7 separate regions of the Homo sapiens genome follow, and regions 2, 3, 4, 5, 6 and 7 are each linked to region 1. The links are contacts of gene promoters, found by promoter capture Hi-C in blood cells and fetal thymus (Javierre and others, 2016). All regions are on one chromosome and are shown on one strand. The core of a region is centred on a gene start or on the middle of the fragment in contact, and the rest is flanking DNA. Distances in the headings are between cores, read along the strand shown.

Region 1 (3,758 bases), core at 1,259-3,758:
ATAAAATGTAAATGCTGCTGTTTGCTTAATTCTAATTTATTGTTTCATTTGATCATCAAAATCAATTTTTAATGTGAATTTATTAGTTCATCTGAGCATCATAACAGCCCTGCATGGCACAGAAGGGCAGTATTAAAATGCCAGTTTTACAGACGAAGAGGCTATGGTTATAACATAAAAACAACTTATTAGAAGTCATACAGGTAGTGTCAGAGCCAGATCTGGAATCTAGAGTTTTGAATTTTCACTCAGGTAATTTTTTCTAAACAATTATATCACTTATGGCAACAGAAGTCACTCTATAAATTATCCTGGGGTGTTTTAACTCCCAGGCTGGTTTTTCTTGGATATAACTTGGTTTCTTTCTTTTTTTTTTTTTTGACAGTGTCTGACTCTGTCACCCAGGCTGGAGTGCAGTGACTCAAATCTTGCTCACTGCAACCTCTGCCTCGCAGGTTCAAGCAATTTTCATGCCTTGGGCTACCAAGTAGCTGGGACCACAGGTACATGCCACCAAGCTTTGCTAATTTTTGTATTTTTAGTAGAGATGGGGTTTTACCATGTTGGTCAGGCTAGACTTGAATTTCTGGCCTCAAGTGATCCTCCCGCCTTGGCCTTCCAAAGTGCTGGGTTTACAGGCATCAGCCACCATACCTGGCCTAACTTGGTTCCTTGACCACCTTTTTTAGACAGCCTATTGTGCTACTCCCTAGTCTCACCTTCACCTCGCCTGTCCTCACTTCATTCCCTGAGATTACAGACAAGAAAGGCCATTTCATATTGGCATAATATTGTGTCTATTTGCAAATTCATTTCAGCATTCCTACTCCCTATATATGTACAGTTCTTGAATACCTCTTTTGAATCAGTTGAAACTGGTTTTTACTGTAATCTCTCATTAATTACAGAATGCTGTAATTCTCTCATTAATTAACTAGTTCAATACATTTTTTGACATGTGTTCATTGTACACTTGTAGAAGAATCATGATTTTACCTTTTCTGAAAATTATTCTTTAATAATGGATGTTTTCTCAATAATGTGTGAATAAAGGCAACTTCAGGAAATGATGCAATTTTTGCTAATCTGCAATTCACAGTCTAAGTAAAAGTTGTGTTCTCTCTGCAAATGCTACTTCAAGAACTAACTAATAAGTTCAAGGACCTGTCTTTCTGTGTCCCAGTGGAAGAAACAATTTCAGTCAGATGTGAAGGACAAAGTAGACACAGAGAAGTGAATTGAAAAACTCTTCCAATTTTTAGTCTGCCTGGGAGACTCAGAATATAGAGTTGTCTCAAGCCTTAGATAGAAAAGACAGATATGAAGAGTCTTCTTCCCTTCCCCTCTCTTCCTCCACACCCTCCATTTTCAAGGGGTTAAGATTTGAAGAATCATATTCCTATCAATTAGCAACTTTATCATCTCTGATATTTGAACCACAGCAGGTGAGAAGAGAGTTGGAAAAGGAACTAAATTATCACAGGCGCTAAATACTTTTTAAAAGGCATTGCTCTGGGCCAGGTGTGGTGGTTCATGCTTGTAATCCCAGCACTTTGGGAGGCCAAGTTGGCTGGATGACTTGAGGTCAGGAGTTCAAGACCAGCCTGGCCAACATGGTGAAAACCCGTCTCTACTAAAAATACAAACATTAGCCAGGCATGGTGGTGGGCGCTTGTAATACCAGCTACTCGGGAGGCTGAGGCAGGAGAATCGCTTGAACCCGGGAGGCAGAGGTTGCAGTGAGCCGGGCGACAGAGCGAGACTCCATGTAAAAAACAAAACAAAACAAAACAAACAAACAAAAACATTGCTCTGAATCCTGTAAGCATCGGTCATTGTCATCATTATCTTTATCCTAATTTATAATCACTCATAAAACTTGTCAGAAGCTTTCAGCTTTCAGGCTGTTATGTAGAAGGATGGGCTTTGCAGCAGGTAAGTGAGGGATCCAACCCTCTCCATCTAACTCTGTCACAGGCTTTGTCACATAATCTCTGGAGCTTTGTGTCTTATCTGTAAAAACAAAGCCATGTTTGTTGAGGATATTAACTGAGATACATTTAAGATAACATAGAAGCTCTGGAAACTATTAGCTTTATAAAAGTGTCAGTTGCTGGACTTGTCTATCAGTTTCCTTATCTCTAATGGAAATTATAATGGAACCTACCTCATAGGGTTCTTCTGAACTCCAAATGTATTTAATAAATGTAAGAACACTTCCTGACACGGTTAGTGCTTAACAAATGTGAACTATTGATATTATTAATGTATGCTCCACGAGGGGGCGTGTCGGATTTGAAACACCTTTTCATCTCCCATAGAGCCTAGCACCTTGCACCCAGCAGGCGCTCACTGCATCTTTGCGGGATGATTTCAATGTTCTGACCTCAGCCTGCGCTGCAGGGAACGTCCGAGTGTAACGCGTTAGTTCGTAGGCCGGAACCCAAAGCTCCGGACGCTGCGACGCCGGAGCCTCTAGGCGCCGGGACACGGGCGCCGGAAGTGGCGAAGGCGGGGTCGGCGCTGCCGGGTGAAATCGTAGGACAGTGAAGATGCTGCTGGAATTGTCCGAGGAGCATAAGGAACACCTGGCCTTCCTGCCTCAAGTGGACAGCGCGGGTCAGCGGGCGTGGGGGCGGTGTTCTGTGGGCTGGGGAGGAGGTCAAAGGCAGCGCCTGGCACTCAACAGCCTTCTGACTTTCATTGCAGTGGTCGCCGAGTTTGGGCGGATTGCTGTGGAATTCCTGAGACGCGGCGCAAACCCAAAAATCTACGAAGGCGCCGCCAGTAAGAAGGGAAAGGGGAAGGCTCCGCAGGCTTCTAGGGCGGTTGCGAGCCATTCCCTGTCTCCCGGGAGAGAAACGGATTATTGCGAGTCCTAGGGTCTTGTTCCGATTGTAGTAGAATAAAACCAGCAGAGCTCTTCAGTCAGGGTGCAAATCCTGCCCGTCCCTTAAGTAGCTGTGAGATTGTTAAAGCTTCTATTAAATCAGTTTTCTCATGGTAAAATGTACATAATACCACCTTACTTTCAGAAATACTGAAAAGTGTTTTGTATAAATATACCAAAGTCTGTGGAATAGCTGGGTCAACTGTAAATTGCAAGTATTTGGTTATCATTATTAGTTGTTCAGATATCCGCTTTTGCTAAAAAAAAAAAAAAAAGTGTTGTTTTACCCCTGGGTAAGAGGCAGTCTCTGGGATTAAGTCAATCCCTGTCGAGTTCCTCTTCTGCCAGACTTGAAGGAGCTACGTATTCAAGAGAAGGGCTACGCACCTGATACTAGTCTCCACAGTTCTGCATTTTGTTAAGGTTACTTGGTGGGAAATACCAAAGGCATTTGGCTGGGAGTGGAATGACAAGGAGCAGGAGCCTCTGGCCAACTTACTGTTTTTCATGCAGTGTTTGAAAACATGTAATAATGAATAGTGTTTATTTTTAAATACAAATATGAACAAGATAAATACTACAGTAGTAATTTATTTGCTCGTTTTTACTTTTCTTTCTCAGGAAAACTCAATGTGAGTAGTGACACTGTCCAGCATGGTGTGGAAGGATTAACGTATCTCCTCACTGAGAGCTCAAAGCTCATGGTAAGGGATTTTCTGGACTGTTTTGTGTTGGCTGGATTCTTAAGAACGGTCTGGTGTACTCTACATCATAGTCCTGGCAGGTACCTGTGTGTTTTAATAATGTTGTTAATGGTTTATAATTGATTTTTTGAAGACATACCTAAAAAATAAAAATCATATCATCT
Region 2 (3,758 bases), core at 474-2,973, 800 kb after region 1:
AGGCAAATCTGCCAAATATGAAACCAATAAAAAGAGATCACAAAACTACAAAGCACAATGAAGGAAACAGGGCTAAAGTTACTTTCCTGTACTGCTTGGTGAGGGCATAGATCGTGCCAACTTTTCCAGGGCAATTTGATGTTATTACCAAAAGCCTTCAAACTGTGGTCTCACTTTGACCTATCAATCTCACCTCTAGAAATTTATCCTAAGGAAATAACTATGGATGTACACAAAATCATAGATACAGAGATGTTCACATTGTTATGGGCTGAACTGGGTCTCCCGAAATTCATATATTGAAGTCCTGACTCCCAGTAGTGGAGAATGTGACTGTATTTGGAGATAGGACTTCTAAAGAGGAAATTGAGGTAAAATGAAGTCCAATGGGTGGGTCCTAATTCAGTATGACAGGTAACCTTATAAGAAGAGGCAATTAGGACATAGACATACGCAGAAGAAAGACCATGTGAAGACACTGGAGGAAGAAAGCCATCTACAAGTCAAGGAGAGAGGCCTCAGAATGAAATCAATCCTGCTGACATTTTGATTTGGGACTTCTGGCCTCTAGAATTGTGAGAAAAGAAATTTCTCTTATTTAAGCCATGCAGTCTGTGGTATTTTGTTACAGCAGCCTTAGCAAACTAATACACACACACACACACACACACACGCACACATACACACACAAAGGAAAACATGTTAAATGTTGAGCAATGGGGGATTAATGAAACACGTTTTGGCTCATCTGCATGATGGAGCTCCATTCCTACATTTAAAGTGATGCTGATGAACACTGTCATGGAAAGCTACTGATGCTATGTCATTATATAAAGCATATTATCCAATAGTATGTATAGCATAATATTTTATTTGTATGTGTGTGTATATATATAAAGTAAATATTAGTTTGGTCTGAGTGGTGATACATTCCTTTATTTGTTTAGGAAAGTAAAAATTTGTGCTGCTGGCTGCTGGATCATGACGTTCCCAAGTGAACACTAACAATGCTTACAGAATATAAACAATGTTCAGACAAGGCCACTCTGTGACTATGTTTGGAACAAGATAAAGATGAGGCCACTCTATAACCATAAAAATGACTAGATACATTCTTCTTTTAACAGAAGTGACTGCTATTTTCTTTCTTTTTAAATGAATGACAACTCTTACCCACTTTAGATTTTTTCCTTGCTAAGATAAAAATTTTTTCCTTGCTAAGATAAAAATTGTACCTTCATTTTGACAGAATCTCATCCAGATTTGATCCCTACTTTCCTAATTTCTCCTTAAATTTATCCATTAAATTCCCAGATCTTATAAGAAGCCCTCTCAACTCCCTCTTATCAAGAGGCTCCAGAAATCTGGTGGTTTAGGTCAATGGGCCTTAACAATTCCAAATTAGATCAATTTGTCCCCTCCCACCGACCACAACTAGCAGGACATTCCATCTCAGTTGAGTTTTAGGAGGCTCTTCTTGATTTATAAAGCTGTTGAGGATTTTAGGATGTTCATTGCCCTTTTTAAGAGGGCAGCTTCCTTTCCTCTACCAAGCTGGGCACGGGAATTTTTTGTTGTGTGCCAAGGCCAAAAACCTGGGGTTCAGTCCAGGTCACTGCTTGAGGACTGTTTGGGAGTGGGGCATAGATCTTCACCATTTCTTGAACCCAATGCCACTGGTCTCCTCCTTGGCAAAACTTCTGTCCTCCTGGCTTAGGCCTCCACTCTCAGGACTAGTCTCTTTCTGGGTGGATAGAGTGTTAGCTTTCTAGCACCTCCTGGCTTCTGGTTTGTAGCTCTGCAACTATACTTATTAACAAGTGGCTGAGGCTAGGAAGCTCAGACTTAGAACACGAAATTTGCTTGGGAGTGAGGGAGGAAAAAGCATCTCTCCTTCTTTTACAGTGGTGCATTCAGCACATACCATTTTCTAAATAACACTCTGACTCATATTCTAGAAAGGGTTTTGATATATGTCCTGCAGTGTTAAAAGTGGTATTATGGGCCTTTAAAGTGTTTACTTTTGTTACTTATTTTTACTTTCTAAATTTTCTTTCGTTGAACATTTGCTTCCAAAATCAGAAAAGTCATTTATTTTAGCTAATAAAATAACGAAACAGAATAAGAAGAAAGGAAGAATGAAATAAGTAAAACAAGCCTGTCAGTAGTGGATGTATAGACATATTGATGTAGTATGAATTTAGGACAGCCTGAAAATTGGCTTTCTCTCAGTGCATAAAGGCTGGCCCTATGGAAGTGGTAGGAGGAATGAGGTTCATTGTTGAGGAGAAATGTCTTTTGAAAGGGAAATGACATAATGGCTTTTACCCCTAGCTCATATTAGAATTACTCGATACCCAGGCCCCACCCCCAGTGATTTATGTGATTACTGTTTAAAGGAAGGAGAACATGGATGAGGAATGAGGCCCTCAATACAAAACTTCCCTATTTACATTTTTCCTTAGAGCCATCTTTGGAGGAAAGGTGGGATCAGATTATTCCCTTTTATTAGTGTTTTCTCAGATATTGTAAGGCTACCCCATTGATGTAAAAACTATGTTTACTGTTACAGGGAAGAACATTTGAAAGCAATTTTTACTTGTACATTTTATTGTATTGTATGTTAGAAAAATATGGCCGGGCAAGGTGGCTCAAGCCTGTAATCCCAACACTTTGGGAGGCCGAGGCGGGCGGATCACGAGGTCAGGAAATTGAGACCATCCTGGCTAACATGGTGAAACCCCATCTGTACTAAAAATACAAAAAAATTAGTTGTGTGTGGTGGCGGGCACCTGTAGTCCCAGCTACTTGGGAGGCTGAGGCAGGAAAATGGCGTGAACCCAGGAGGCGGAGCTTGCAGTGAGCCGAGATCGCACCACTGCACCACTGCACTCCAGCCTGGGCAACAGAGTGGGACTCCGTCTCAAAATAAATAAATAAATAAATAAAAAATATATATATACACCAAAGTCGTGATTTCATGGCAATGATATAGTTTTTAAACAACTAAGTTCATTTATGCAAAAATATAAGCCAACTGGCATACACATATTAGGTAAATTACAGTAGAGGTGGTACACAGATATGACAAGAATCAAGACGGTATGCAAGACTTTAGGCTGGTAAACACTGGTAGAAGTTGTTTTATCAAATCTTTCTGAAAGAGGTGAGAAATTCAGAGCAATTCTGAGATGAGAAAGAGGTGCAATTCAGAGCAGTGCTTTCAAACACTGGACTGAAAAATATGTGGGGCTGGCTGAGAGCTTGTGGAAAATAGAGATTCTAGGTTCCTGCCTAGAGACTTCAGCTCAGGAGATCTATGAAAGATATCCGGTCACTCTGTTGCAATCAGGTGTGGGAACCTTGCAGATGGGAGTCATACTTCCTTGGGCTCGAAGACCAGTAGTTCTTGGTAATTAAACTTATTTTAAATATTTGCTGTCTGTGAAGTCTTTTAACTGTTGTTGATTGTTGCAGTATGGCTTTGAAAACTTCTAATTTTTAAACTGGGCCTCTGGGTCTCAAAACTGGGTTCATGTGTGTAAATTAAAATACACACAAGTGAGCACACTATATCCCGGCCAAATACACATTTTAATTTGATTTAACCAATAAAACAAACGGGAATGAATTATACCATTAGGCTCAACAGGGCTGCCAGAGCAAACCAACAGCGTGATGCAGACCAGGCATGGGAGTCATAAAGTGCACGCTTCTAGTGGAATGGAAGATGCTCGAGTGGGAGCTGTTTCATGGCA
Region 3 (3,758 bases), core at 325-2,824, 790 kb before region 1:
AGACCTCGCGCTTGCGGCGCCCAGGCCCAGCGGCCGTAGCTAGCGTCTGGCCTGAGAACCTCGGCGCTCCGGCGGCGCGGGCACCACGAGCCGAGCCTCGCAGCGGCTCCAGAGGAGGCAGGCGAGTGAGCGAGTCCGAGGGGTGGCCGGGGCAGGTGGTGGCGCCGCGAAGATGGTCGCCAAGCAAAGGATCCGTATGGCCAACGAGAAGCACAGCAAGAACATCACCCAGCGCGGCAACGTCGCCAAGACCTCGGTAAGGAAAGAGCGGGCGCCCCTCTGCGTTCCGCAGCCGGAGCTGAGTCCGGGTCCCTGGGGCCGCGTCGCGTTTTCTCCCGGATCCGGCCGACCGTGGGCTGGTGCCGTGGAGGGGTAGGGGCCCGAGTCTGCGAACCGCCAGACTGTGGGGGCTCGGGAACGGAAGGGGAGACCTGTGAGGTGAGGGGGCCGGCGACCGGCGTGCAGGCGTGGGAGCCTGGGGTCCGAGTGGTTTCTCTGCATCTGAAATGGTGGATTTTCGCTTTTGCAGAGAAATGCCCCCGAAGAGAAGGCGTCTGTAGGACCCTGGTTATTGGCTCTCTTCATTTTTGTTGTCTGTGGTTCTGGTAAGTGGCTTGGGGGCTCCCATCAGGTAGAGTCTTGGGTTGAAAGGATTTGGGATGACGTGGTGACCGGTCAGTAGTGAGTCCTACCTGCGTAGTTCTCAACCCACCTGCCGAGGACTCCACATAATTCTGTTTCGTCTGAACCAAATTACTTGTTCCACATATGCACAGAGGGTGGTGCTCCAGAAACTTCTCCCAGCTTAATTTGTACTCACAGGAGATCAAAAAGGAGGTCAGGTCTTGGTAATGATCCAGTTGGAATAAATGTTAAGACCGGACAAAACCTAACGAAATGAGAATTTAGAATGTTTTGTAACTCCATTATCAGTCTTTGCAAAGAAAATTATAAATATGTACTATAGATGTTAGAACTTGATTTAACATATACCAGAATCTAATGTCTTAATGTCAAAATTGAGTATATTTTATAAAATAAAGCTTGTGCAAAGAATTGATTCACTATAGAGGAAATTACCTGATTGGCATTTTAATGTGTGAGTCAAATGTTTTTAGGTTAATAAAAGAAACGTTTGATACATGGTTTAAAAAAAAAGTGTCGGGGTAGCCTGCTGTCCCCTAAGAGTAACAGACACTTGCCTTTGCAAATAGATTACAAAAAAAAGGTCTTTCCTCTCTTCATTTATCATTTTAATATGCAAGCTGTTAATATTGAAGTAGATGTTTGTTTTCCACATTCTAAAATTACTGAGATTTCTGTTTAACGTTTCACTTTGCCTTTCTTCTTCACTTACCAATTGGAAGCTTTCCTGATAAATGGATGAGAGCCAAGCAGTTTATATAACCTGAAGATGATTGAATTTCAGCTTTGTGAGAATGAGGAAACATGCATGTGTTACAGGCCAGGCCTTAAAAGGATGCTTATAAACCAAAATAATTCTATGCTGGAAAAACCTGTTGGCTTTGGTGCTTTAAGTTCTTTGTAAAATGATTACTTATCTGCAAGTTCTCTTGGATACTTAGACATAAAGTTCAGCGAAGCTAAGATAAAAAAATAACTCAGGGATATTTCATTGTTTTATTTATTCAGACAGGCCTGTCTTCACTTCTTATTATACTGAAGTTATGTACCATTTGCAAATGTAAGAGTACCTTTGGATTCTTCAGCTACCTTAATAAATATTTGTTAGACACCAGACCTATTTTATTCAAAGCTTATTTTAATATTTGCTCTTTCTTTTTACAGCAATTTTCCAGATTATTCAAAGTATCAGGATGGGCATGTGAAGTGACTGACCTTAAGATGTTTCCATTCTCCTGTGAATTTTAACTTGAACTCATTCCTGATGTTTGATACCCTGGTTGAAAACAATTCAGTAAAGCATCCTGCCTCAGAATGACTTTCCTATCATGCTTCATGTGTCATTCCAAGGTTTCTTCATGAGTCATTCCAAGTTTTCTAGTCCATACCACAGTGCCTTGCAAAAAACACCACATGAATAAAGCAATAAAATTTGATTGTTAAGATACAGTAGTGGACCCTACTTATTCAGTCAATTAAGAGTAAGTTTTTTTATGTGGTTATTAAAACAGTATGAACAATTAGTCTAACTCTGCATAGACAGGGTCTAGATTTTGTTAACCCAAATGTATAACTGCAGTTAGCTTAAATTACAATTTGAAGTCTTGTGGTTTTTATATAGCTAGGCACTTTATTACTCTTTTGAACTGAAAGCACACTCCCTTATAGGTTCATGTAACTGTCCTGTAATAAGGTGCTTATAAATGGAACAACTACACAGCCTAGTTTTGCCACAACCTTTAGCATCTAAAAAGTTTTAAAAGCTTCTAAATGTCTAATATAAAGGGAGATGCTTATAGCCACAACATCTATTTTACCAATATTGTTTCCATTACACTACCTTGGATTTTGCATGAGTGAGTATAGTAACCCAAGATGCCATAAAAAAAAAACTTGATCGTTTTCTGACTTAATCAGTTACTGTGGTTTCACTAAAAGCTACCGTGGTGGAGTGAAGTCAGTCAGGGAAGGTTTGTTTATGTTACATTTATTTCACCAGAACTATTTTAATATATCAAAGGGGTTTACTATGCCAAACAAAATTCTAGGGAAAAATACTGCTAAAAATGGATGCCTCATCAGAACATGCTGTTGAGTCCAATGTGCCATAAGACATTTTAGCATGTTAAATAGCACTTTTAATAGCAAAAAAAGGCACATCAACTGCGAAGTTATCCTTAGTTTGCAAATGCTTTTTCTAGATTAATGATTTTTCAATCATTAGGGTACTAGACACATCAGCCTAAAGTGGCATCTGGAATTGAATGGATTTACTGATAATGATCAGTCTTTAGTCTTCCCTTTGTTATATGACTTTATAGGTTATGATTGATCAAATTTACGTTTTACTAATGGTAAGGGTGAGGGTCATAGGGCAGGTTTTGGGTTTTCTAGTACTGTTGAAAACTGCAAGTATTGGCTATTTGTATACTTAGCCATAACTTGGTGAAAAAAAACCTGAGCAGTGTCTATGTATTAATGCGTTGGAAAGAAAGCTGCTTGTGTTTGCTTTGTTAATTGCCTCAGGATATTTCTTTTAAAATAAGCTGTTTTAAGAGGAACAGAAGGGAAATCTGCTACCTAGTCTATACACAGCGTGAACCTCACAGGGGGCTTCTGATACCCTCAAACATGGAGAACAGTAAGGGAGCAGAGTGGTTAAGGACTTTCAGGAACTTAACTATTCTGGAATAAGGAATGAATCAACTGACCTTGGGCCAGCAGGTTTTTAACTAAATTGTTACTTGCCTTTCTCACCCAGTTAATCAGTCTCTGTACTTGTTTCCCTTTTTGAAACAAGTGTCTTGGTTAACTAATTCTGTTTTATGGTTGTGCTAAATTCATAGCAGGTGCCTTATTCTTTGCTTTTAGTCAAACCATTCCATATCAGAATTTTCCTTGGTTTACTATAGATATTTGGCTTTAAGTTGTTGTTTGTGTTTTTTAATGTACAATGTTCTGATAAATTTGACTGTTAAATTGCTATAGCTAGCAATCATTTTACATATGTAAAATTGCATTCCCTTTGTATTTCATGTGTAATTCACCAATTAAGTGCAGTTTATATTCAGGTTGGATTATGCATGTTTAGGTAAACGAAAGCTGTGTCTTAC
Region 4 (3,758 bases), core at 405-2,904, 770 kb after region 1:
CCTCAGCAGGCAGCAACGCAGGGTCTACGCCCGAGGCCCCCACTTCCTCACCAGCCACGCCAGCCACATCTTCTCCAACAGGGGCTTCCAGCACCCAGCAGCAACTCATGCAGCAGATGATCCAGCTTTTGGCTGGAAGTGGAAACTCACAGGTGCAGACGTCAGAAGTGAGATTTCAGCAGCAGCTGGAGCAGCTCAACTCCATGGGCTTCATCAATCGTGAGGCCAACCTGCAGGCCCTGATTGCCACAGGAGGGGACATCAACGCAGCTATCGAGAGACTGCTGGGCTCCCAGCTCTCCTAATCCCTCGTCCCATGCCTCCTGCCTCTCCCCTCCCTCGATGTCAGCATTCGGTTCTTCTGTCAATCCTTACCCTCTGCAGCTTGTCATCCCTTCCGTCTTCTCCCTCATCCTTTCCAAACAGCAGGGTGACTTTAGAGACATGGGCTCCAACCCCTTAGCTCTGTCTGAGAATTATGGTTTTACTGCTACGTCTCTAACAGAATCTTCTCTCCTGGTCTCCTTGAGCAGTGCTACTTAAACAGTTTTCACAGTTTCATTGATTGACTCTACCTCCTTGCCCCACACCACTTTTGCAATCTTTAAACTTTCAGTGGCTGTGCAGAGTCGAGGGAGGAACCAGCTCTCTGGTTTACTGGAACATAGTCTTCCATCTATACCACTAGGGTTTTGTCTTATGTTTACTTTTGGTAACTCTCTTCCTTCTTTTTCTCCCTACCCCCCAACCCCTAGCCCAACCAATGCTAGAATTTCTCGCTCTGAAGGAGGAGCAGGTGAAACAGGTGGTAATTTTCCTCCTCGGCCCCTATTCTGGTTCATTCAGCACTTTTTGGTGGGAACTGTTGGAAATTCCAGGGTAAGGAGGAAGACGCCTGTTCTCCCTGTCTGAAGAGGGAGATGAGAGAGCTCTCTGGACAGGAATTAACAAACCCTGGAGCAGCTCAGAGGAAATTGATGTGAAAGAGGAGGGAATGAGATTATTCGGAGGAGGGGAATGGGGGAGACAGCCTGAGTAAAAGGCTTGGAAGTTGGAATTAACAGTGGGGAGCAGAAGCACTCGTAGCTCTTTTAGGCAGAAGAATCCAGGCCCAAGCTGGCAGAAGAGACTTAGAGATGCTAATGGAATTTAAACTGAAGAAAGGAGCTCAATGAAGCTAAGCGCCACGCCCCACAAGGGGTCATATTGGCTTTAGTTCCTCAAGCACATGTGCTTATATGCACACACACACACATTTCCATGGACCCAGGTCTTGCTTGTGTCCCCAGGCACCAGTAATTTGAGCCCCCCTCAAAAGACATGAAGGGGGTTGGGGTCTGTGTGAGTAGTGGGGAGGTGCATGTGTATCCACATGTGTGCATACACTCTTAAGTTGGGTGGGAAGTGGATTCCTTGTTGGTTTCTGGTTCAGAGTGCTCTCCCACCACCAGAGACAAGTGGGTAAAAAGGTCAGTCCATTGCAGGAATATATATCTGGGAGAGCTAGGTCCCTTGGAGCTCTGGATGCTGGGTAACCCAGAGGTAATGTGGGTACCCTTTCTGAAGCTGTCAGGGCTGTGACTAGCACCCTTATCACCCCTCACTGCCTTGTGGGAATAGTAGAGGGTTTTTTTCCTCCAGAGCCCCTGGCCTTTCAGTTCTTAACTATTTCCCTCCAGGCCAGAAAGTTTTCTTTGAGGAAGGAGAGGAGAGGGTGGCAATGATGCCTTTGATCTGGAATTGGACATTGCTCTGTCAGAGCACAGAGGAGGCTCATATCACCTCTTCCCTCTCCTACTTGGCCCAGCTGCTTGGAGGACCGACCCCATGGCTGAGAATATGACGGCAAGAGGAACAGAGTTTGCTCCAAGTGGGAAAGGGTCCCAAGCAGTCCAGAGAAGATGTCTGTGTGGCTTTCCCTCCCTGCCTCCCCCAGCTCCCACACTGGCCTTTGTAAATAAATGGCGTGGTCTTTGTTGTGAAAAAAAAAATTCATTTCTTTTTTATTGCCAAATAATATTTCATTATGGGTATACCACATTTTGTTTATCCATTCATTATGGATGAACATGTTGGTGGACATTTGGGTAGTTTCCACTCTGGCTGGTATGAATAATGCTGCTGTGAACATTTGTGTTCAAATTTTTGCATTGACATATTTTTTTTCCTAAATATATACAAAGAGTAGAATTGCTAGATCATGTGGTAATTCTATGTTTAACATTTTAGGAACTGCCAGACTGTTTTCCAGAACATCTGTATCATTTTTCATTTCCACCAGCAATGTATGATGGTTCAAATTTCTTCGTTTCTTAGCCAACATTTGTTGTTGTCTGAAGTGATATCTCGTTGTGATTCTTATTTGCATTTCTCTAGTGACTTTTGATATTGATTATCTTTTCATGTGCTTACTAACCATGTGTACAACTTCTTTGGAGAAATGTCTATTCAAACCCTTTGCTCACTTTTTAATTGGGTTTACTTTGTTATTGAGTTGTAAAATTTCTTTGTCTAGACGCAAATCTTTTATCAGCTATATGATTTGCAAATATATTCTCTCATTCTGCGAGTTAACTTTTCATATTCTTGGTAGTATTGTTTGTAGCATAGAAGTTTTAAATTTTGATATAGTCCAATTTATTTTTCTTCTGTTGCTTCTGTTTTTGGTGTCATACCTAGGAAACTATTGCCTAACCAAAAGTCATGAAGATTTACTCCTATGTTTTCTTCAGGAGTTTTGTAGTTTTAGCTTTTAAAATTATGTCCATAGTCCATTTTGAGTTAATTTTTGTTAAGTTTTTTATGTTGTGAAGTAGGAGTTCAGGTTTTTTCTTTTGTGTGTGAACATTGAGTTGTTCCAATACCATCTGTTGAAAAGACTATTCTTTTCCCACTGAATTGTCTTGGCACGATTATGAAAAATCAATTGATCATAAATGTGACTAAATTCAATTTCTGGAATCAATTCTATTTCATTGATTTATATGTCAATCCTAATGTTAGTTCCACACCATCTTGATTTCTGTAGCTTTCTAGTAACTTTGAAATTTGGAAATGTGAACGAATTTTGTTCTTCTGAGGGCCGGGCACCGTGGTTCACACCTGTAATCCTAGCATTTTGGGAGGCTGAGATGGGTGGATAACCTGAGGTCAGGAGTTTGAGACCAGCCTGCCAAAATGGCGAAACACCGTCGCTACTAAAAATATAAAAATTAGCCGGGTGTGGTGGCTACTCTGGAGGCTGAGGCAAGAAGAGAATCACTGAACCCAGGAGGCAGAGGTTGCAGTGAGCCGAGATCGTGCCACTGCACTCCAGCCTGGGTGACAGAGCAAGACCCCATTTCAAAAAAAATTTTTTTAAATAAATAAATAAAAATAAAATCTTAAAAAATTTTTTCTTCTTTTTCAAGATTGTTTTGGCTATTCTGGGTAATTTGCATTTCCATATGAATTTTAGGGTCAGTTTATAAGTTTCTGAAACAAAGAAAGCTGGGCTTTTGATAAGGATTTCATTGAATTTGTAGATCAGTTTGGGGAGTATTGCCAACTTAACAGCTTAAACCTGCTTTTTTTTTTTTTTGAGACAGAGTCTTGTTCTGTCACCCAGGCTAGAGTGCAGTGGCGCGATCTTGGCCCACTGCAACCTCTGCCTCCCAGGTTCAGGTAATTCTCCCTGCCTCAGCTTCCCAAGTAGCTGGGATTACAGGCACCTGGCACCATGCCCAGCTAATTTTTGTATTTTTAGTAGAGACAGGGTT
Region 5 (3,758 bases), core at 408-2,907, 710 kb after region 1:
AATGTAAAGATTGTGGAACCTGTAAAGCATTTTTCTGTGTTCTGAATTACCATATTATCTTTTTATTTTGGGGGCACTCATTACTTTATACAATTACTTATTTATATACTTTTGATTTTAATATTACAGAATGTAGTATCTTACCCATATTTGTATTCTTACAACATTTAATTCAGTGCCTGGCACTTAATAGATACTTAGAATTTGAGTGTTGACTATTCGGTGATGGAGTTGACAGGACAGTTGAGAAGTAAAAGAGTTAGTGATTGGAACAAAAATGGGGAACAGAACTTACGAAAATAAGGACAGGATATAAAAAGATTAAACTATGTTAGGTATTGAGGGGAAATTTCCATACATTTGTTTTAATAATTTTATTTTTGTAGAATACTTCTGTGATTATCAGATTGGTTAAAATCCCAAATAAGGGATTTTAAAAACACTTTTACAGAAGCTATAAAACAGTAACAAATTAAAATGTTCTGTTTCGTTCTTCTTGGATCAATTTATGTAGAAATTAAAAGTTACATAATTATTTGTTTTATTCTGATTAGGCGTTTACAGTCCCTAATTAAAAATATTACACTTAGAAGAACAAAGACAAGCAAAATTAAAGGAAAACCTGTTTTGGAGTTACCAGAACGTAAAGTATTTATTCAGCACATTACACTTTCAGATGAAGAGAGAAAGATTTATCAGTCTGTGAAAAATGAAGGCAGAGCCACTATTGGAAGGTATGGAGAAAGAAAACCATGTTAAAAATTAGTTTTTGTTTACTTTGTTTCCCATTCACTGAATGACATTATTTAGATGTGTTAGCAATAGTTTGAAGTATACTGAAAGATAATTTGCTTCTATGAATTACAGTGTTTTTTACAAATCAATAAAGTGAATGAAATAATAGTATAATTCACCAGGTAAGTAATTTTTTAAGTTAGGAAATAATTTAAAGCTTACTTTAAATGACAAGTTCTCAATTGCTAGCCAGAAGATTTTGCTTGCTTCTATTTCCAAAATCGTATGGAAATCTGGAAATAGGAACTGATGAAATAGGTTTAACAAGAAGATTAAGGATTGGTAGAAGGTATGAAATTCTGGTCCAAGCAAGATCAGGTTTAATGTGAGCCCACAGGGAACAGAATGAATAAGAGACAAGTGAAAGCAGAATAGGACTGTGAAAGGGGAATCTTCAAAACATAAAAACTTCAGTGAGGTAGGTACAAAGCAGGTTTGATAGGAATTAGAGAGAGTGGGAAAGATTGTTCTAAGCAGCAGATTTCTGAGTTCAAAATCTTCTTTCTTTTCATATTCTTTCAACAAAAATTTATTAAGTGCCCACTGTGTGCCAGGCACTTATACCCATTGGGATACAGCAGAATAAAACAGACAAAAATGCCTGCACTCGAGGAATTTATATTTTAATGGGAAGAAACAGATAATTTAAAAACATGATTAAGTTTTAAGGAATAAAGCAACGAAAGGGGATGGGGAATGCCAAAGCTGTTTTAGTAGGGTATTAAGGAAGACCTCACTGAGAAGATGATATATAGGTAAAGATCTAAAGGAGATTGGGATTAAGGGGTGTTTCAGCCAGAAGGAAGAGCAAGTGTAGATGCTCCCAGTTGGGAACATGCCTGGTGAGCTTGAAGAATAACAGAGAAGCAAGTGTGGCTGGATAGTATGAACGAGAGAAAATAGTCATGATATCAGAGATTTATTGGAATGGGGGTATGTAACGCATATGTCAAGGACTTTGGCTTTTACTTTTTATGACAGGAAACCTTAAAGGGTTTTGAGCCAGGAGAGGGACGTAATCTGATTTATATTTTTAAAAGATCACTCTGGCTGCTGTGCTCAGATTTAGGTTATTTGAATAGGAATAAGGTCAGAAGTAGGGAGACCAGTGGCAGTCAAAGCAAGAGATGATGGTGGTTTTTACCATAGTAGTGATAAAGGGAGTGAGAAATGATTAGATTCTGTTAAATTGTGAACGTAGAACCAACAGAACTTGCTGGTTGATATGTTATGGCATGTGAAAGAGGAATCAAAGATAACTTCAAGCCTTTTTACCTGCATAAGTGGAAGGCTGGAATTGCTGTTTACCAAGACAGGTCTATGGGAAGAGCAGAGATTTTTTTAAGCTAAGATCAGAAGCTCAGTTTTGGACACATTGATCATAGGATGCCCGTGAATTTTCCAAGTAGAGATATCAAATAATTAGTTGGATAGGAGAGTCGAGTTCAAAGTCAGCTATGTGTGGATGGTAATTAAAGCCATGAGATCACCAAGGGAGTGAGTAAAGTGAAAGAGATCTAACTGTGAAGATAGCAATGGCTGGTGAAATAGGAGGAAGGAAGCTTCTAATATTTAGCACATGGTAGGCACTCAAAAGAGATCTCTTAAATTGAAATGCTGAGTATCAGTAAGATATGACCATGCCAGGGAATAATTAGTGTTAGTAAAGGTTATTCTATTTGAAAAAGTTGAAAAAGATTAACTTTATTGAAACTGTTCTCAGAAAATAAGTTATTTTTAAAGTATTCTTTTTAATAGGCTATATATTTACTAACATTTATTTAGCACTCACTAGGTGTTATACATTGATCTTAGTGCTTTAAATGTATTCACAGCAATCCTATTAGGTCAGTATAATTATCCACATCTTATAAGTGAGGAAACTGAGGCACAGAGCAGTTTAGGTGACTTACACTGTTGTCACACAGCTAGTGAGTGACAGGACAGATTAACTCTGGCACTTTGGTTTAGAGCTTGTAAGTTTAATCTTTGTATTATTTTGCCTATTCCTTGCATTCTTGAATATTCAGAAATGTTTGTTGCCATAATACTACCAGTACTAATACTAGCAACAGATTCATGTATAGCACTTAATATAGTCCAGGCACTATTTTAAATACTTTACATGTATTAAATTAAATAACAGTAGTTGTATGAGGTAGGTACTTTTACAATGCCACTGTTAGAACTGAGGAAGCTCAAGACATAGGTTAAGCAACCTGTCCAAGGTTACATAATTAAATTGGCACAGCCAGGTTTTGAATTCATGACCAGCTAGCTCTAAAAATTTGTACTCTTAGCCGTTAGGCTATATTTCTTCTGTTGCCTTAAAATACTTAAATATCAGATGGCCTGGTTATATAATTTTTGGATCACCCATTTCCTTAAGAATCTATGTTGTCATTGTACCACTGTATTTTGTATAGAATGTTTCTGTGGGGAAGCCTGGTTTTTTTTTTTTTTTTTTTTTTCCCTCTGAAGTTCAGCAACTTCTTTGTTGACTTTCCCCTGGGACATGTGATATTATTTAAATCTTTAGATTCCAGGCTTTTCCCCCCTTCTCTTTCCTGGAAAGCTTTCTTTAAATATTGTTTTCTGTTCCATTATTTTATTTCTCTCTGTGTATGTTAGATGTCTTTTATCTGTGTTCCATAGGTATCATTTTATTTCTGATCTTTTACATTTTTTTGTTTAATTTTGATTTTCTCAGTCCTGTTTCCTACATCCTTTTCTATGTTTTTATCAGTGACTAGTCTTTTTTTATATTGGCTTATATTGGTTTCAGTGTGACTTTCATTTCTCTGATGATTCACTGTTTTCTTTCACTTTCTTGAGCCATACCAGCTCATCTTTCATCTCTTCCTGTTCTCTTGCCATATTTTTTCAAAGCTCTTTGTCTTTGCTTTAAGATTTTTTTTTTTTGGAGGAATTGTTTTATTGAGTGGTGTTAAATTGTGACAGTA
Region 6 (3,758 bases), core at 688-3,187, 670 kb after region 1:
GTGAGCCATTGCGCCTGGCCAGTCTTAAGTCTGAAAGAGCTATGTTCTCATATTTGGAATTTTTTCTTTGTCTAGTGAGCATGACTTTCTTACTCTTACAAAACATCAATTTGAGCAATTTCTGGCATATTTTCCAAGAATTTATTTAAAATCTGGCATACTAAAAGCTGAACTGTATTGCCATTTGCCTCAACACACTTCAAGAAGAACATACAACAATTAAAATAATTTGAAATGCCATTGTCTTTATCTTCCTCATCAACTTTGGTCAAATGAAATAATACATTGTTTCAAATTCTATTGCTCATCCATGGTTCATGATTAGAGATCACTACAGTTTATTTACGATAATGAACAAATGTGTCTTGAAAAGCTGACTACCGGCCTGGCACGGTGGCTCATGCCTGTAATCCCAGCACTCTGGGAGGCCGAGGCGGGCGGATCACCTGAGGTCAGGAGTTCAAGACCAGCCTGGCCAATATGGTGAAACCCCGTCTCTACTAAAAATACAAAAATTAGCTGGGCGTGGTGGCGGGCTCCTGCAATCCCGGCTACTCCGGAGGCTGAGGCAGGAGAATCGCTTGAATCCGGGAGGCGGAGGTTGCAGTGAGCCAAGATCACCCCCATTGCACTCCAGCCTGGGGGACAGAGCAAGACTCCATCTCAATAAAAAAGAAAAAAAAACAAAAAAAAGAAAAAAGAAAAGCTGACCACCTAATATTATTGTGCTGACAGGCGTGTAACATGGACCTCTCTGTGACGCGCAAGTATTATCTGGCAGTTACATGGTGCCGCCTGTGCAGCTGGGCGCCACCACCAGCTTCCTGCCCTGTGCGATTAAAAGGCCAGCTTCGGGGACAGCAGCCTCCTCAACGCAAAGCGACCAGCCCTGCCAGGCGTCGGCTGCAGCTGGTCCAAGGTTGACGGTCCCAGGGCCGCATTCTCCTTCCGGTCACCTCAGACTCTGGAAAGAGAGCCATGGAGGGCCTCAGAGCGCCCCTCTGCAGTTCCTTGAGGAAAACAAGGGCCTCCCCCTCTTGGCTGGAGCAGCCAAGTGCCCACGGGGAAAATGGTCCCGTCCACCATTTCAGGCAAACGCCCCCATAGCTGTAATAAACATGTGATGGGTTTCCTGCACCAAGAAAGGAAAATTTTCCTTAAAAATAACAAAAAGAGGTGGGGAGGGGACTCTAAGTTCCATTTAAGATTTTCCAAACTCGTTGTGTCTCATGCATACGCTGAGGCTTAACATGAAAATTTGGAGCGAAAGTCCCCACGGTTCACCACAGGGAATGAAGTAAAGTATCTCGCCGGTAGCTCTAGGTCTCGTAAACCGTGGAGCTCCTTTAGTATAAGGCCCTATTATGTGCCACATTAGATGAGAAGAAAATAAGAGGAAGGATACGGTAGAGCCTTTAGAATGGGGTTCAGTCTTAGGACTCGTAGGATAAAGGAAGGTCGTTTCCCTCCGTTTGAGGCAGGGAATCAAACAAAACACCGGCACCGCAGGCACCGCAGTCGCACTCCTGGGGCCTCGTGGCTTTCCCGCGCGCCCGCCTTGGGGGCGGGGAAGAACCCGGATGGAACCACCCTTGCAGCCCGGACCCCCCGCCGTCTTTGAATGGCAGCGGGGCGGAGTTGCCCTCCCTTCTGTGCTCTGACTGGTTTGGCTCCGCACTCTCCTCTTCGTGATTGGGCTTTCCTAGTGCCAGTCACAGAGCGACGCTGGTCTCCCAGATTGTTGCAGAAGGAGACGGCGTCGACGTCTGACTGGACTCGCGGCGACTTACCTTTCAGTCGTGCGCTCCTGATCCGGCGCTCGGAATTTGTCCCCGGCTTCAGGGCTGCGGGGCCTGGAAGGAGGCGTATCGAGGCGGCTCGAAAACGATCCAGGGGAGCCGAGGCGCTCCTCTTGTCATCCCACTCAGCGCCATGTCCTGGATGTTCAAGAGGTGAAGGGGGCGGAGGGGGTGGGGCGCTCGGTCTAACGGCCTGGAGGCGTCCCCAAATGAACCTGACCTTCCCCGCGTTCCTCTGCGTTCCCTGGGCGATTTGTGCAGCTGTATTCGTTCTGTTGGTCGCATATGTGGCCGCCGGAGAAATAAATGCATTGTCTTCGCTGGCGAGTAGGGGCTCCTAGGGCGAGTCCCGTGTTAGGGACTTGGGAAATCTCTGTCACCGACTGTGGGGGGCCTGGGGCTTAAAGCATCTCGGCCAGTGCTTTATTTAACAAAACATCCATTAGATACCCACTGTGCGCCAGGCATTGTGCTCGGTGGAGGGCCGAGTAAGACAGTCCTTGTCCCCAAGTGGCTCACAGCTTATCTGTATGCACAGACGTGCAGATAAGTATTTGCAGAGGCGCTAGTAGAGATATGCGCCACTTGCAAGGAAAACGCATCGCAAATAAGCGACTGTTCTTAGGAGAATGGAAACTTTTTGCAATGCTCCAGTAGACTCCCCTTCACTTTTCATTGTCCAAATTGGTATTTATGGTCATTCCCGAAACAGTTACACCTAATGGGTTTGGGGTTATGCTTAAACCGGCGACGGAAGGCGGGTACGGGTGGCTTGGGGCCAATTTCCCACGGTGGCGTGGTTTGGATACCAGAATAGGTGTTCTGCTCGCAGGGAGTTACAGTGATGGATGCTGGATGTATTTTCTGGAAAATTATAAACAACTTCTGGTACATTAATAGTTGTATTTTTATAAGTCTTTTATATAGCTCAATCCCTATTGAAATTTTGGCATATGATTTCATTTTTTAAATTATTTTTTTGACATGGAGTCTCGCTCTGTCGTCCAGGCTGGAGTGCAGTGGCACAATCTCGGCTCGCTGCAACCTACGCCTCCCGGGTTCAAGTGATTCTCCTGCCTCAGCCTCCCGAGTAGCTGGGATTACATATGGGCGCCACCACGCCTGGCTAATTTTTGTATTTGTAGTAGACAGGGTTTCACAATGTTGGCCAGGTTGGTCTCAAATTCCTGACCTCAGGTGATCCACCTGCCTCTGCCTCCCAAAGTGCTGGGATTCCAGGCGTGAGCCACCGCATCCGGCCCATAATTGTAGTTACAGACATCATATACATATCAATTTAGATGATTTTCACTGGGAAAGAGGTTAGTGAACTCTGACTAGGCTTTTCATTTTGAATACCTAGGGGGCAGGTAGAAGAGCCAATATTGAAAACAGGTAGAGTTCCTAGAAGCCTTCTCCACTCACTGCAATTCCTGCTTTAACGAGAGTAACTATTAATCTTTACCGTGATTCCCATGTAAGATTTCATTTGCTGAAGTAAAGCATGAGAAAACTACTCATATGGTCTTTGGAAATACTTAAATATTATATTGTTTTTCTTTGCCTTTAAAAAAAAATAGGGATCCAGTTTGGAAGTACTTGCAGACTGTCCAGTATGGAGTTCATGGAAATTTTCCACGCCTCTCATATCCAACTTTCTTTCCACGTTTTGAATTCCAAGATGTTATCCCTCCAGATGACTTTCTAACTAGTGATGAAGAAGTAGATTCCGTTTTATTTGGAAGTTTGAGAGGTCATGTGGTTGGACTACGCTATTACACGGGAGTAGTGAGTATAATAGTAGATAATTAAATTTTGATTATATTTCTGGCGTTAACCTAGAAAATAAGAGAATTCGCAGGTGATGTGTGCGGTTAATCTTTATTTTACTTTAAGTTAGTTAAATATTTGTACGCAAAAAATAACAAATACCTTAAGTGACCCTCCCACCTCAGCCTC
Region 7 (3,758 bases), core at 752-3,251, 640 kb after region 1:
GGGCTGGTGGGGCCGGCAGGCCACTCCGAGTGTGGGGCCCGCCGAGCCCACGCCCACCCAGAACTCGCACTGGCCTGCAAGCCCCGCTTGCGCAGCCCTGGTTCCCGCCCATGCCTCTCCTTCCACACCTCCCCGCAAGCTGAGGGAGCCAGCTCTGGCCTTGGCCAGCCCAGAAAGGGGCTCCCCACAGTGCAGCGGTGGGCTGAAGGGCTCCTCAAGCATGGCCAGAATGGGCGCCGAGGCTGAGGAGGCGCCAAGAGTGAGCAAGGGCTGCCAGCACGCTATCACCTCTCAATCTCGGCTCACTGCAACCTCCATCTCCCGGGTTCAAGTGATTCTCCTGCCTCAGCCTCCCAAGTAGCTGGGATTACAGGCATGCACCACCATGCCTGGCTAATTTTGTATTCTTAGTAGAGACAGGGTGTCACCATGTTGGTCAGGCTAGTCTTGAACTCCACATCTCAGGTGATCTGCCCGCCTCTGCCTCCCAAAGTGTTGGAATTACAGGCATGAGCCACTGTGCCCAGCCAGCCTTGTTCTTAAAGAATTCCATTGACCAGGATTTCTCTGTAATTGCTTTAGTTGCATTAACCATTATTAAAATTAAGTGACAGTCACTTCAATTAAGTAGTAATTTTTTTTTTAAGGGGAGACTTTCTAGTGATCTTTGATCCTAAGCTTTTTATCACTGTTAGGGCTTCATGTGTGTACTTGAAAATAAAATATGTACAAATGTTAAATTGGTTTGAAGATTTTAGTGGTGAAAGTTACCTAATCAGTTGTTAGTACTATATCTACAAACCAATCTTGGAAATGCATGATGATGCTCGTTGAAATAGCTGAAAATAAATTATTGTGTGCTTGTTCTTACTTTGTGCCTGTTTTGTAGTACAGAATTTAAGGGAAGGGAGATAATTTATCTTCATACTGAGTTTCCAGAACTGATATTTGCATTTGCTTTTTATTTTTATTTTTTATTTTTAATGATGGAGAGAAAGGTTAGCTGTTTTACTTTGGTGAGTTGGCATAGGACCTATCACTTTTTGATGCTTTTGGTCATAGATCTATCACAGAATGCTAGCAATTAGACACATGCCATGAGTAATCTAACTACTTTAATACGGTGGTTGGAAGTGGTGCAGGCAGTAACTCCTATACACCAAATTATAGTGTTTTAATTTGTAACATGTTAGAGAGAGTGATAGGAATTTCTGCAGTATAAATATCCTGTTAACTAATGCTTGTGCTGTTAAGGGCTTTGACTCCTGGATCTGAAGAAGGCACTTACCCCTTTAAATTTTGAGCATTGACACCAATTGAACTATCGTCTTCAGATGCAAGAGAAGGCAACAATCAAAATTAACTGCTTTCATGAGACACAGGGCTGGAAATTAAAACTAAGCAATCCCTCTAGGCCCAGGGACTATAGTGGAAGAGGTGGGCGCGTGAGATTGTAAGTGCTGATTTTGAATAATAAGATTAGAGTGTTTCTGTAAATTAAACATTAATATCAAAAGCATACTGATGCAAGCCAGCATCTGGGACTGTGTGTCAGAATAACAGGGTTTTCTTGGAGCATTAATCAGTTATTTAATAAAAAATTGTAAAAGGTTATAAAAAGTTTATGGAGGCCAGGCGCGGTGGCTCACGCCTGTAATCCCAGCACTTTGGAAGGCCAAGGCGGGCGGATCACGAGGTCAGGAGATCGAGACCCTGGTGAAACCCTGTCTCTACTAAAAATACAAAAAATTACCCAGGTGCTGTGGCGGGCGCCTGTAGTCCCAGCTACTTGGGAGGCTGAGGCAGGAGAATGGCATCAACCCGGGAGGCAGAGCTTGCAGTGAGCCGAGATTGCACCATTGCACTCCAGCCTGGGTGACAGAGCAAGACTCTGTCTCAAAAAAAAAAAAAAAGTTTATGGAAATCTTACTTTATGGTCAAACTGATTAAAATTAGATAGATTTGTTTATAAGGTTTTATTTAAATCAGCTTTAGTATTAATAATATACCATACAAATGTAAAATTTGGTTTTCTCTTTTAAACAACATTTTCACGTAAGAGATCTTAAGAGATTTGTGTTTACCTTTTAAGTAAACTGCAGGAAAAAAAATGGACGGGGGGAGACACATTTAGTTGGCTTCGTGTTGAGTTTATTAGGTGTTATTGTTTGGGAAACTGAGTCTGTCTATCAAAGAGTAAATATTTTTGTTTTATCATTTCAGCTAGATGAATGACTATTTCATAATGACCTATGATCCTATTTTGTGATATGAAGTGTCTTAAACCTTTGACAGACTCCAAGAGTGGAATTTCAGGTTTTAAATTCAATCTTTTTGACCTTAAACAAACTTTTTTGGATATTAGGTTCCCTGAAGTCACCTGTCTCTCTCCAAGAGAGATATATTAGGCTTATTTGTTCTGTTAGAATTATTCAGGAAGCATTGTCAAATCTGAGGTGATAGTTAGCTTCCTTTGGGTCATATTTCTAGATGTGTTGCCAATGTATTCCAGGATTGTATGAGACTCCTAAAATTCTGGTATGTCTTAATATATGTTGTCAGTAATAATTATGATTATTAAATTGTTGTACGCCATGGAAATAACCAAATTATCTTGTCAACTGTGTCTTTATGGCCATGCTAAGTTTTGCCATCTACAATTGTTGTTTTGCTTTGATCCTTCTCAAAAAGTGACTTATAATTAGCTACAGTCCAGGGCTTGCTTCTTTGGGGGAGTTCATGAAAGGACTCTGAGTGCAGGTTTCTGATAACTTTGGAGATTGTGCCATTACATTAGAAAGAAAACTTCCAGGGCACTAATTGAAAGGCTGGTATGTTCATAAAGATTGCTAACCCATTATGAAGCAGAGCAAGAGTTAACTGTATGGACTGAACTAATGGAGGACTGAAATAATTTTTATGGCTTTTTTTGTTTGAAATATTGCTGATTCTTTTTGTTTTTTTCAGAGTCTGGAGAAATTTTTTTGTTTTGAGCTATTTGTAGCCTAAATATACTGAGTAGAATATACTTTTGTAAACAGACTTTGAGGCATATTTCTCTTTCTGCCTAATTTCTCCAGAATTTGTAAACTGTTTGTGAATATTCTTAATTCATGGCAATGTGGTTGTTTGCATGTGGTTAATAAGAACCTGTTTTCTTTTCTAATGACACACAGGTGGAGGAACTTGTTATTTTCCCAGAATTTTGACTGAAATGGCCTTGTGAGAGGTTCCAGCAAAGCCAGTTTAGGAGGCCCTATATGGACAATGATTCTTGCTGTATTTGTGGGGGTAACCAGGCCAAGTATAGTAACAGAAGCTTATTTTGCAAGTAGGTTGGTATTGCTGTGACTTGTTTTTGGTGGAAGTGGGGAACTGGAGAGAGAAAGATTGTGTTTCAGAAAAAAACTATAGTATTAGATTAACCTTGGATTCCTAGCTGGCCATGTGGTCACCCAAGATATGGAGCCACAGTTCCCCTCCTCAGCAGCCAGAAAGATCAATGACCAGATTCCCCATAATAAAGGAACTGATAAATAGAATGCAGGGATTGAGACCAATCCAATAGCCCAATAGATTTTTTTTTTTGGATAAATGTAGAAACTGGTCCTTCTGGTCTTAAAGCTTGAAACATGTATTTGTTTTTCTCTGAGTTCCTTCCTCAGGAAGAAAGACCCCCAGATCTCTCAAAAAGTATCGAAGAACTGAAACCAGATCCCCACATGCAGACAGTGAGAAGCCAGACCCTTCATTTTGTA

The links. Contacts are between HindIII fragments. The CHiCAGO score rates a contact against its expected background, and 5 or more counts as called.
Region 2: a fragment that was not itself captured here is called in contact with the fragment with the promoter of COMMD2 in region 1 in 2 of 17 cell types (fetal thymus and naive CD4 T cells); the score reaches 7.8 in fetal thymus.
Region 3: a fragment that was not itself captured here is called in contact with the fragment with the promoter of COMMD2 in region 1 in 2 of 17 cell types (naive B cells and naive CD4 T cells); the score reaches 5.8 in naive B cells.
Region 4: a contact is called between a fragment that was not itself captured here and the fragment with the promoter of COMMD2 in region 1, in 6 of 17 cell types (naive CD8 T cells, activated CD4 T cells, non-activated CD4 T cells and 3 more). The highest score is 11.0, in naive CD8 T cells.
Region 5: a contact is called between a fragment that was not itself captured here and the fragment with the promoter of COMMD2 in region 1, in 2 of 17 cell types (total CD4 T cells and activated CD4 T cells). The highest score is 6.0, in total CD4 T cells.
Region 6: the fragment with the promoter of HLTF-AS1 here is called in contact with the fragment with the promoter of COMMD2 in region 1 in 9 of 17 cell types (naive CD8 T cells, activated CD4 T cells, total CD8 T cells and 6 more); the score reaches 19.6 in naive CD8 T cells.
Region 7: a fragment that was not itself captured here is called in contact with the fragment with the promoter of COMMD2 in region 1 in 2 of 17 cell types (fetal thymus and naive CD4 T cells); the score reaches 6.3 in fetal thymus.

The regions. Positions count from the first base shown.
Region 1 is chr3:149,751,239-149,754,996 of GRCh38, reverse strand. It overlaps COMMD2 (COMM domain containing 2), which reads left to right and starts at 2,508. Exons shown (of 5, transcript NM_016094.4): 1 at 2,508-2,619; 2 at 2,710-2,787; 3 at 3,512-3,594. The coding sequence starts at 2,553. RefSeq lists a silencer at 2,283-2,352. The HindIII fragment of the contact is 1,089 bases long and covers 1,892-2,980 here.
Region 2 is chr3:148,949,039-148,952,796 of GRCh38, reverse strand. The region is part of intron 2 of LOC107986045 (a long non-coding RNA gene); the gene reads right to left. Among named protein-coding and RNA genes, the nearest start is that of GYG1, 41 kb to the left of the region's middle. The HindIII fragment of the contact is 6,256 bases long and covers 1-3,758 here.
Region 3 is chr3:150,542,550-150,546,307 of GRCh38, reverse strand. It overlaps SERP1 (stress associated endoplasmic reticulum protein 1), which reads left to right. Exons shown (of 3, transcript NM_014445.4): 1 at 1-256; 2 at 530-605; 3 at 1,810-3,758. The coding sequence starts at 173. The coding sequence ends at 1,850. Among named protein-coding and RNA genes, the nearest start is that of SERP1, 2.1 kb to the left of the region's middle. RefSeq lists enhancers at 1-225, 1-301. The HindIII fragment of the contact is 410 bases long and covers 1,370-1,779 here.
Region 4 is chr3:148,982,408-148,986,165 of GRCh38, reverse strand. It overlaps the pseudogene UBQLN4P1. Among named protein-coding and RNA genes, the nearest start is that of GYG1, 7.3 kb to the left of the region's middle. The HindIII fragment of the contact is 9,960 bases long and covers 1-3,758 here.
Region 5 is chr3:149,043,056-149,046,813 of GRCh38, reverse strand. HLTF (helicase like transcription factor) reads left to right here. Exons shown (of 25, transcript NM_003071.4): 18 at 555-734. Among named protein-coding and RNA genes, the nearest start is that of HLTF-AS1, 41 kb to the left of the region's middle. The HindIII fragment of the contact is 1,405 bases long and covers 955-2,359 here.
Region 6 is chr3:149,084,511-149,088,268 of GRCh38, reverse strand. HLTF-AS1 (HLTF antisense RNA 1) reads right to left here and starts at 1,937. Exons shown (of 3, transcript NR_046648.1): 1 at 1,791-1,937. HLTF (helicase like transcription factor) reads left to right here and starts at 1,736. Exons shown (of 25, transcript NM_003071.4): 1 at 1,736-1,952; 2 at 3,380-3,587. The coding sequence starts at 1,933. RefSeq lists enhancers at 1,374-1,891, 1,777-1,986, 1,892-2,409. The HindIII fragment of the contact is 6,248 bases long and covers 1-3,758 here.
Region 7 is chr3:149,105,748-149,109,505 of GRCh38, reverse strand. No RefSeq gene overlaps it. Among named protein-coding and RNA genes, the nearest start is that of HLTF, 21 kb to the right of the region's middle. The HindIII fragment of the contact is 2,641 bases long and covers 681-3,321 here.